Regions from separate parts of the Homo sapiens genome. Here region 1 is linked to region 2. Evidence: promoter capture Hi-C in 16 types of primary human blood cells and fetal thymus (Javierre and others, 2016). All regions are on one chromosome and are shown on one strand. The core of a region is centred on a gene start or on the middle of the fragment in contact, and the rest is flanking DNA. Distances in the headings are between cores, read along the strand shown. Region 1 overlaps SEMA5A (semaphorin 5A). Region 2 holds the start of SEMA5A (semaphorin 5A).

Evidence for each region. Contacts are between HindIII fragments. The CHiCAGO score rates a contact against its expected background, and 5 or more counts as called.
Region 1: a contact is called between a fragment that was not itself captured here and the fragment with the promoter of SEMA5A in region 2, in 2 of 17 cell types (M1 macrophages and M0 macrophages). The highest score is 6.2, in M1 macrophages.

What each region holds. Positions count from the first base shown.
Region 1 is chr5:9,356,349-9,361,860 of GRCh38, reverse strand. All of the region lies in intron 3 of SEMA5A (semaphorin 5A), which reads left to right. Among named protein-coding and RNA genes, the nearest start is that of SEMA5A-AS1, 150 kb to the left of the region's middle. RefSeq lists a silencer at 1-41. The HindIII fragment of the contact is 1,776 bases long and covers 1,311-3,086 here.
Region 2 is chr5:9,544,179-9,550,066 of GRCh38, reverse strand. It overlaps SEMA5A (semaphorin 5A), which reads left to right and starts at 3,992. Exons shown (of 23, transcript NM_003966.3): 1 at 3,992-4,483. SNHG18 (small nucleolar RNA host gene 18) reads right to left here and starts at 3,867. Exons shown (of 3, transcript NR_045196.2): 1 at 3,537-3,867; 2 at 918-1,077; 3 at 1-765. SNORD123 (small nucleolar RNA, C/D box 123) reads right to left here and starts at 1,240; the gene lies at 1,153-1,240. RefSeq lists a silencer at 3,869-4,058. The HindIII fragment of the contact is 4,033 bases long and covers 2,299-5,888 here.

The sequences.
Region 1 (5,512 bases), core at 949-3,448, 190 kb after region 2:
ACTCAAGTCAAAGGGTACCCACTAATGAAACAATGAATGGAACTAAGCGCATCAGCAGAACAATCAGTGACAGAATTTGGACCCTAGATCCGCAAAATAGACCAACTCCCAACAGACTTGAAAGTGTTTAAAGAGATACATAGGTAAAGAGCAATTACTTTTGCACCAACCTAGTAGCATCAATATGGTCAGAGCAAAAGATCATGATGTGGATGAGACAGAGTATAGACGTAGTGAGAAAGAGCATTATGAGGTGGATGAAAATGCTGAGGAAATCTCTTAGAAGGTGATGCATAGGGAGGAACAGATTAACTCACATTTAAACCCAGAGTAAGACATTTATTAAGTATTTATCTAGAACTCACAACATATAAAAATATATGTGACTCAGTCCTACCTCACAGAAAAAATGGCGGTAATGCTGGTATAATTTTCATCACTTTCCCTCCTTTCTGTATAACAGAACCATGTCTTTGTCTTATTTTTAAGGAAGAAAGTATGTGATGCTGCATAGAATTGAGTTTTTGTTGTTGTTGTTGTTTGCAATTTTTTTTTTTTTTTTGAGACAGAGTCTCGCTTTGTTGCCCAGGCTGGAGTGCAGTGGCATGATCTTGCCTCACTGCAACCTCTGCCTCCTGGGTTCAAGTGATTCTCGTGCCACAGCCTCCCGAGTAGCTGGGATTACAGGCGCCCACCAACTTGCCCGGCTAATTTTCGTATTTTTAGTAGAGACAGCGTTTTACCATGTTGGCCAGGCTGGTCTCGAACTCTTGACCTCAGGTGGTCTGCCTGCCTCGGCCTCCCAAAGTGCTGGGATATCAGGCATGTGCCACTGCGCCTGGCCAGACTTGAGTTTTTAAAGGGCAAGATTTCTGTCTTATTTATTGTTATGCCCCTAAAAAATACTTTATAGATCTTGGTGGAGAGAATGACTATGTTTTTAATCCTTTGCTGTTAAAGAACTTAATACTCTCTCCCCTAGGATGAAGAAGATAGAAAATCAGGCATTCAAAAGATAAATCACAGACTGATAAAGAAAATTATAAAATGAAAAGAATCGTTTGTGTTTCTTGCTTTTCCTTAGAGTTCTAGTTTTCTTGCATGAATAATGTAAGTACTAATACATGGCTTCATGGATTTTTCAAGGATTCAGGAATGTGTATGTAAAATACCCACTGTGTTGCTCAGCCTAGTGCCGAGAATATTGTATGCACCCAGTGTGTCCTATTATGGGTGTCATTATTTTCATTGCAGTTTTATTATTTTCACCATCATCTGAAAAGGTATTTCCAAGAGTGTGTACTAAAGCTTCATTTCTTTTGTAAGCTATCGTGTTGTTTTAAAAAGCAAGGTACTGGACTTAATAAAAATTTATTTGCTTTGGGGGACACAATTGAGATAGTTCTTTCCTGCATCTCTATCTCATAATCTACTCTCTCTTTAGGGTAGTGTATATTTTCTCAATTATATGTATTTTGAAAAACACCTTTACTGATTTTTAGACTATTAAAATGTCTCTTTTGTGATATATTTAATCTATCCAATTTCTTAAGACCCTGACTGCTGTATTCCATCAGTGTCACCTACAGAATCAAATCCCATCCCTCTGGAGAACACTGTACACATTATCTCTGCAGGTGTGTGCATACCTGATGCTAGCTTTTGATTAATTTACTAACAGTACAGATGAAGTAGGATGACCTACTGCAGAGGTTAATACCTGCAAAGGCCAGTGGTTCATCTAGTGAGTAGTTCATTGAACAACACAAGAGATTCAAAGGCTATTGCTGAGAGATAATGTCACAGTTGAAATTCTTGTTTATCTTGAATTTAAAAACTAAACAAAACCATGTCTATATTTCTCATTATATTTCCATAAAACAAGGATAGCAAAAATTTTTAAATCTATTAGACAACCTTAGGAGAATCAGCCACCTAGTGTTGTCAAAGGAATAATTTTATCATTGCAGTTCTGAATTCTAGGTCATTCTCCCTCTTCTGCCCCAGTGGTTCTTAATCTTCAAAACTGGATGGACATTTTGCCTTTAAAGGGTAATTTTTTTCATAGTTTTTTGTTTCTTTGTTTTTCCTCTGCAAGGAAATATTTGAGAGTTACTCTAATTTGAATACTTAATTGCCTAACAAGCCAACATGGAGTGGTGGCAAATATAAAGACGGAATTAATTGGAATTGGTTAAATTTTGACTTAAAAACCAGCAAAATCAGCTGTAGGGGAATAGTTATTATAGGTGCAAAAGTTACATCATGACCTTCAGGAAAGGAAGGACTGACTCATTTCAGATTCCATAGATGTCTAACCTATCATCAACTCAGCTTCAGTCTGGTTATGCTAGGAAATTCCTTCTCTGGCCATTCCTTTATTCTGGCCATTATGTTATAAAGGGAATCTACTGGATAAACACCAAGCCAAGCTGAGCATAGCAATGTCAAGTTCAACAATGCCTCACAATAGCAATCCAACAACAAATGCTTACTGAGTGCCTTACATACAGTATGCCATTCAGTCTTTATAAAATTGTATAAAGTGACTATTTTTCCCCTTTTATGTAGCTGAGGAAAAAAACTAAGGAATTTAATTAACTAGTCCATGAACCCATGGTGCTTATGGAACAGAGCAGAGGCTAGATTCCTGGCCTGTTACACTGCAAAGGCCAGGTTCTCATATTCTGCAGCCTCTAGCTGGTGGGGGGAGGAGCTGCTACTGTGGTATTCCTGCTTTGTGTGTGTGTCCGTGAGTGTGTATGTGTCTGGTTTGGGTGCTGCTGCTGAGGATCTGGGGGCCTGTCTAGGAGAGGAAATGGACTGAGCCCTAATTAACATGTATGTGCTCACCTTTTTCACTTTGAGTTTTTCCATAGCCCCACATCCTACTGTCTTTGCAAGAGGGTCTGAACCAGTGCTTTGCTCCTTGAATCAAAAAATTTTGAGAGAAAATTATCTCATCATGTACCTCAATGCCTCAACCTAGAGCCTCCTTTTCTAGATTCCAGGCATATTTGTCATAGCATAGAGGACAGGTATGCTCCAAATGTAGTTCAAAGAACTCTCTCCTAGCATCCCAAGCTTTGTCTTATTTTCCAGCTTCGTTTCTTTCAACATAGAGGGTGCACTGAATGACTTATGTTCATTCATTCATCAATGTGTTTGACATTTATTCATTCAGCCACTCTTTGAACCCACATCCATTCATTCATTGAATCACATCTTTATCAAGTGCCTGCATCAGGGCAGCCTTTGCATTAGGCACTGGGAGTGTAGGACATAGCAGCGCACCTGCCATTTAGTGGAAAGATGGATGTGTCAATAGACAAATTGAACGCTGCAGCATAGGACCTGAGAGGCAAGGTCTGGACACTGTGTGCACAGGGAAGACCCTTCCTCTTGTTGAAGGAGATGCACAGAGAGGTTCTGTGGCAGCTGTCATCCCAGCTGGAGTCAGAACGACAGGCGTCAGACCACCAGGTAAGGAAAGGGAAGTCAAGGGAGCTCTGGGTGGTCCCTGGACCAAAAGCACTCACTACAGTTAGAACCAAAATTGCACAAGGGACAGCACTGAAAATGGGTTTGAAGGTAAAATGGAGCCAGTGTGGTTCTTAGTGGCTTTGGTCTTATTGAGGTTTCATGTTAGAGATGCTGACTGGAGCGCCCAGGCACCAAGGAACAGACTTGGCATAGGTGGACAACCAGTGATGGAATGAGAGGTATGGAGGGTCCAAACAAAAAGCAGTGGGGACAGAAGAAAGTGTGTTATAGAAGCTGGAGCAACAGGACTCTGAACATATGTTGGGGAGAGAATCAGTGCTAGATACTCCAGATGATCCACTGTCTCAGTCTAGTGTGACAAAATTCAACAATCCCTGTTTCTTAGTTGAATTTCAGCACTGGAAAATGCACTGATCATAATTCCTGTCCAAATAATGTTTGTTAAATAACTGTAGTTTAAAGTGAGAGAGAATTTTGTCCATAGTTATTCATCCATACTGTACGACATGACGTGGAGCTAAGTAAGTTTTGCCTTATATATCTTCAGATGTGAAAGATCCCAATGGCCCCTCATCTTCACATGGGGCTTTGGAGTGCTCACTCCTCTCTGTCCAGGAGAGGTGCCTCACCTGGGGCTTCCCGCCTTGATGTTACCAGGTAAAGTTTAGCTTGTTGGATAATAGTTCCTCCAACCCTCTCTTGGCACTCTAATCCTTTTAACAGACTCAACATTTGCAAAAAGGCTTATGTCTATTCCCAGAGTTTGCAGTTATACTGTCAGGATCTCCTCTCCCTGGGTATTTTTAATGGAGTAATGTTTATGTTTGGGGAGGAGCAAAAATAGAAATGTTTATAACTGGTGGGGAAAAAAGAACTAATGCAAGCTGGAGTCATGGGCTTGGTCGGTTGTTTGTGAAAACAATTCTCGCTAATTATAGCCCTTCTAGAATGACAGCATTATTATACTGACCATATGCAATTAGCTTGACTTTTCTTCCTCTGTGGATGAAAATAGAATGCACTGCAGTTTTCCCCTTTCATATTCCTAAGCAAGGACTACACATCCTTTGGTGGACACAGTCCAATTTGAGTCTTTTTTTAAGGAGTTCTAAAATCTCTGTATGGCATTAAATTTAATAGGTCCAGTATATCAAAAATAGAATTATAATTATGAAAAGTCAGTTAAAAGGAGGTTGGATGGTAAAATGAAATGAGATTTTTAATGGCTTGCCAAGAGTTGTAATTAATGAGATGGAGATTTGGCCATGCATGTGACCTTCAGGTAGGAAACAGTCAAAGCCCTGTGTGAATGGGCTCAGGAAGGAAAATGATTTTTCAGAAGGAATGGGTTCTCTATGTCTTGCAAGCTGGTAATTCCTCATCGTTCGGGGCTTTCTCTTGAAGTCAGGCTCACTGAATATGTTCAGGAGGCTGCTTGGAGTTCATATCAGGTGCATGAGCGTTTCAGTGGAAGAGACAAAGCTAGCAACACGGTGGAATCCTGGAAGAAAGGAGCTCTTACTTAGACAATAACTGCTTTATTTGATGGGTCACTTGTAATTTTGCTCATAACACAGAGCTGCTTGTCATGACAATGTTAATTCGTGGGTATGATCTACTTCAGTATCTGTTTTGCACAGTGAATTTCTTTGAACCCCGGTTGCAAACAAAGAAAGAAGAAAATAACACAAAAGCATGCTGGCTTGAGTGCCTAATGCCATCCTGCTGCACAACTTCCTCACACACCACACGGGCTCCCGAGGCTATAAAAATTGTTTTTGTCTGATTAAACACAAGTCCCTTTGAACTTGGTGGGGGTTCTTTTCCGCTTGCACTTTCTTCTAACTGTGTGCAGCCTTTTCTTTTTTTTCTGGTTTGATTTGGAATCCAAAGTGTCTACAAGTTGGCCCACTCCACCTCCTTCATCCTTTTCTTAAAGCAAAAAATGTGTGTTACTGTAACATCTGTTACATTCCATTCCCTGAGGCACAGACAGGCAGAACTAAAC
Region 2 (5,888 bases), core at 2,743-5,242:
TTCTCCCTTGAGAAATGGGTTCCAGAGAGCTCGAAGATGAGCAGAGTTTGCCTGGGTTAGGTGAGGTCCAGGTCATGCTGTGCCAACCTCTGGGAACATGTAGCAGTGGCAAAGTGCAACCCTCTGACCAGACATGGGCAGAGGCAGACTCTGACATTGGGTCTTGTATATATATGTGAGGCAGGCCCTGGTGGACTTGAGTGGAAGCTCAGACTGCAGAGTGGGGCACATGATGGGGTCCCAGGCTGTGCCTGGAGGAGCAGACTGACCTGGCCCTTCAGTTTAAGGGCCAGGAAACTGCACTTGCTATGCACATTTGTGCTCATTCTCATCTGTGCCTCAAGTATTTTCTGTCTAAGTTTCTGGGTGGCTCCTTTTTAGTAAAACTGGTCTGCTTAACTTTGCCAATAGAGTGGGCTGCCACACTAAAGAGGAATGCGTGTTTCTTGGGGTAAGAGAACCCTAAAGACGTTTTGGTGAAATCCAAGTGGAGGGGCTATTTCCCTAAAATCTCCCCACTTGTAGGTTCCTAATCCATCAAAAGAACCTGACAAAAGAAACCTGTCTGGGGGCAACACAGCATCACCTGTACCCATAATCATGTTTTCCCAATACTTTGAAGTAGGTGAGCAATAAAGCAGCCCTAGGCAATCTTAGTGAGACATCAAACTTCACGTCTTTGTACCAATGTTTAGCATTAGGAAAAAGACTGATGGGCCTGATCAGATGATCTTTCCATTTCTTCAGTTTTTAAATGTCATGGATCTAAAAGAATGGAAACAGGGGTAAAAAGAGAACACTTATGGAGGATGATTGTAATGCATCTCATTGGTAGGAAAATGCAGTTAAGATGTAAATGTCAAGAGGCCACGATTTCTGGATTGAGGTTTTTTTCTATAATTTTAATACAATCTTACCACATCTTAAAGACCACAGATACCCGGCTTTCCTTTGAAGGTCACTCATGGCCCACAGTCATGTCCTGATTTCTTCCAGGTGATGTTCTTTCCAGAAAGCCCCCCTCCCTGTTCCTCTGGTCTGAGATGGCAGCTTAGGGATGTGGCTGAAATTCAAGCACTAGGGAGGGAAGTAAAGACAAGACAAAATTGGTCAATTAGTGCAGAAACATAAATGATCTTTCATAGTTCCGAACAGAATTGAGGTGAATCAGGAAATGGATGGCATTTTTCAAGTCACATGAATCAGCGCCCCAGAATTCATCATTTTCACCAAGTGTTTTGTTGGTTTCTTCATTCTTTCACATTGTGTGCATGGCTCACCTAAAACAGTTTAGGGAAAGCTATATTTTACTTTGAAAAGATAACTAAATACTTTTGTTTGTTTAAAAATGATCATCCTTAGTTTTATAATGTGATGAGAAGCAGCTTAATGCAGATAGCTTTCTAGCAAGCAAGACCTTTGCAAAGCAAAACAAACAAAAAACAAAGAAATTTTGTTTAGAAAAAAGAAATACTTGTGGATACCTCAAAATGACTTTATGAAGAGCCTGCTTATATGTTGGGTGCTCGGTGAGTATTTCACACAGATTACTGTCTTTCTCCTTTCAAGCAGACAGCTGACATACCCCTGCCAGGCTGGTGTGTCTAAGCTCCAGGTGAAGAGACTGTAGCTCAGAAAAGTTAAAGAACTTTCCCCAGATTAAAACTCAAAATTATATCCTCAATTTAGATCCATTTCACTTTAAACAAAGGATGCACTCTAAATTATAATTTGGTTTATTTACCTGCTTATTAGCAATTATTTTGTAATTAATCACAATTATCACTAAAATATACATCTTTTAACAATGCATTGGTGCAGCCTGTAAACAGCAAAACTGAATTCAACTCCCCCCTACATATATACAAAATTATGTAATTTATCCAGTTAAATGTTATGTTATCAGACCTATTGGGTCATGGTTTAGAAAGCTATCTTCTTCCCACTGCTTAGCTCTATATGCCAAGAGTTTTTTTGCTTTTTTTTTTTCTTTTCAAGTATTAACGGCAATGTTCAGAGGCAAGAAGAGGATTAGCTGAATACATTGGGTTCTAATTTCTGTCTCCCTCACCCTGGCCACGTAGGCTCCACAGGTCCAGGCAAAGGCTGCAGATCCAAGCATAAGGCAGCTTCCTCCCTACATCTTTCCCCCTAGAAGCAGCCAGGCAAGACCTTGGCCTGCCTCTTCCTCCCAGGGAGGCTCCTAGGCCTCTGTGCCACGTAGGCAAGATAATCGGAATGTCTGGAATGGAACTAGTGCTCTAAGTGCCAAGCAAGGGAAGGGAGAACGGTTAAGCTTTTCCTTCAGGTCCCCAGGAGCCTGCAGCTGCCACACAGCAGGCCGGGAGCCCCCGCCACAACCCAGGGAGGAATGCTTGCCAAGAAGGCCTGCCCAGCTACTGACACTTCCTCCCAGAGGTCTTAAAGGAAATCCCAGTAAGGCCTGAGTACCCAAGACAGCCAGATCACCCGTGCCAGAGACTGGGCATTTGGGGATGGGCTGGGCTTTCATAGAAACCTTCGGAATTGCTTTCACTTAATTCTTTTATTTTAAAAAAAAGTTCTAGAAAATAAAGACACATCGATAGCAATTTGTATTTCCATTGTCCTCTTAGGTCTGCATGGCTACTGTGCGAGCTATGACACCCTGCAGCCTGCAATAGCTTCTTTGTTTTATGGATGAGCTCAATGGAACCCTTATGGACGCACCGGACCATGCCCAGGACCAGCGAGGCCCATCCATACCCCACCACTGGCTGGAAGGGCGCTGGTGTGAACGTGGGTCCTTGCGGGGGTCCCTACCTCACTGCGGTCAGGAGGGGGCAATTCACACATTTCCTCATGCAGGGGACCTTCAAGCCTCCCTCTGAGGCGCAGACTGAGTAAAAAGGGCCCAGAGATACTGTCCCGCACCCCCATCCAGTGGGAAAGGGCCACTCAAGGCCAGTCAGGACTCCCAACCCAAGTTTTATGCCTTATACTCCTATAACTTTACCATTTGCTCTTTTCGCGAGGCTGACCCCCTCCCTCTCCCCCCCCACCGCCTCCTCCAGAAACTGAAGAACTGCAACAAAGTGTCCAATTATACACGTCTTCAAAGGTACTTTACTTGCTTCCCAATTATCAACTTTTCACCTGAGTACTTAGTAAGGCCCAAGGATCCTGCAAAAGTGCAACAAGGAATAATTGACACAGAATTGGACGAATGACTTTGACCATACGGGACTTCTCTCTTAACGCTCAGCGTGGCTACCTGGGGACGCCTTCTCTGGCCTCCCTGATTCGTCAGATTTGTTCATTTCCTTGACTTAATCCCGCTGAAATCGACCCGAACTAGCCGGGAGTCTCACCCCCAAAGTGCTCCTCCAAGAACCCGCAACGACTGACTCTCTCGTCTTCTTTAAGGAGTTTCTCCCTCAGAACGGATGAGGATGTCACACAGAAAGAACAAAATCACAAAGTTCGAGTTCCGGAGGACCAGACGGCCCCTGCCCCCCATCCCCCGGGCCAGATTTAGCCGAGGGAACCGCACGTACCTGAAGCCGAGGCCGGCAGAGAGGGAGCGCCACGTCTCAGGTCTCGGCCGGCGCCCCCCTCCGGGGTGCAGCCACGTCTGAACCGGGACAGCGGGCGGGGGAGCCGCAGAGGGACCCAGTGAGACGGGGGAGGGAGCCCCCAAAAGTCAGCGCTCGGCCGCACTCGCACTGGGGAGGCTGGAATGGAACTCCTGGGGTGCAGCGGGGCTCCCAGGAGCGAAGGTGGGGGTCCTGTACCGGGAAGGGGCGGGGCCCGGGGAGGGGCTCGGGGAGGTCAGGCGCGGGTGGGGCGCTCGAGTTTCACCCCGGCGGGGAGGAGGAGGAGGAGGAGGCGGCGCGGCGGCGGGGGCGGGGCAGGGGCGGGGCGGGGCGGGGGTGGGCCCAGGCTGTCCCCCGCTCCCCGCCCAGCGCTCTCCGCCCCGCGCTCTCCGCGCCCGCTCGCCCCGCGCCGATCTACTTGCCGGGAAGGCGGCGCCGGTGGCGGCTGCTCTCCCTGAGCCCGCTCCCGAGCGCTGCTTTCCCGCCGCGGGTGGGCTTCGCAGCCTCAGGCCAGCCGCGGCCCTTGGCCCGCTGCAGCCCCGGCCCTCCACCTTCCCCGTGCAGGGGCGGCCCGGCCAGTGTCGCTCATCCCGGGACGCTCCCTTCTCCCACCCAGGACTGCCCCGCGGAGCTGGCTTGGACACCCAACTTTGCCACCTCGAGGGTCGTCTCTGCTGGGCGCGAACCTGCCCACCCACCGGTTGGCCGCGCGCTCGGGGACCGTGCTCGTGGCCCCCAAGCCGGTGCCCCCATTCTGGAACTCAGCGAGTAGGGGGCGGCTCTGGGGAAGTGGCAGGGGGCGGCTGCAGCTGCTGCCTCCACTTCCCTAGCCAGGTGCTGAAGAGGATCCTCGGAGCCGCTCTGGCCCCCAGGCGCTGGATGACTGGCACCAGCGCTCCTCGCACCTGGTGAGCGACCCCCGCCCGATTCCTGCGTGGCCTTGGCAGGAGCCCCTGACCGCGCCGCGCCGCGCCGCGCCGCTGGCCGGGACCCGGGGACTGCAGCGGTCGGCTGGTGGGTGGTGCCGATCTCGGGTGGGATCCATCAGCAGGCACCTGGGCGGGGGTTGCGCGTACAGGATTAGGACGACCGTCAGTCCGGGGGCGCCCACAGTTGAGCTAGTGCACGGGCTGGAAGTTTGTGTACCCGCCTGTGCCGAGGTCTGAGCATGGAGAGGTAAGGAGCCGGAGTGTCGCGGTGGGCGAGACGGGACCCCTGCCCAACACCCGGAAAGGTGCGCACACTGGTCTGTGCCCGCCCCCGGCGCGCCTCCAGGCTCGCACTGCCGCGAGCCGGGGGCAGGGGACACGGAGGTCGGGACTTGGCGGTTCGGGAGCGGCCACCTCGCAGCCCCACCGGCTTGGGCAGGTTTTCCTGCTTTCCTTACAGGGGAACCGGGAGGCAATGGGACTTGGGCTCAACTCCGCCAAGCGCCTTGGTTAATGAAAGACACTAAGGCGGGGGATGCAGAGGCCTGGGGAACCACCAGCCAGGTGCGCTGCAGCTAGGCGAGCCCCTTTCACCAGGCATCCCTCCGCTGCTCCACGGATTTTGCACACCGCGGCTCAGGGTTTCAGACCCCAGGGTTTCGGGCAGATCGGGCTCCAGAGGGAATGGTTTCTCCCAAGATGTGCGTGGGAACGGTCGTGGAGGAGTGATTCCCCCGGCTCGCTCCCCGCGGCGGCCGGTGCCTGGCTTGGAGCGGTCACATCCCTGTTCCCCTGGCTTTGGCGGGAAGCGCGTTCACCTCCTCGCCCTTTGCTTGCTTTGTACCAGGATGCCGCGGCCGGAGTTGGGATTTAACTTTCCTGCGCCTGCGGCGTCCTCGGGATTCCCGGCAGGGGGCGCTGCGAGCGAGCGCTCGGAGGACGAGGCGCCACAGGCAGTTGCTGGGTCCTGGGCGAGTGGGCGGGAGTCCCAGGCAACAAACAGCAGAACCAGGCAGATCTTGCAATAATTTCATTTTGGGGGCCGGGGGTTGGGGGAGCTGATCTGGTGGCTATAGAGAGCTGTCAGCCTTGCTAGGAGAGGGGACAGGAAAGGTGGTGGCCAGACATAAATGCTCTAACTAGAAAGGTCTCTTCCAGAGAAAAAGATCGCTGTAAAGTCTTCCTTGTCTGGGCATCTGCCTTCCTTGTGACTGTTACATTTACTCAGAAAGAAATCGAAATTGAGGGAAGATAACGTGAGCTTTGTTTAATACCGTTCTGCTTTTTAGGGGTACTTTAGTTAACACATCAGGAGTCACAAATGATTGTTCTGGTTTGTTTTGAAGAAAGACAAGTTTTACGTCTAGCTTACCGAGAAGAGCTC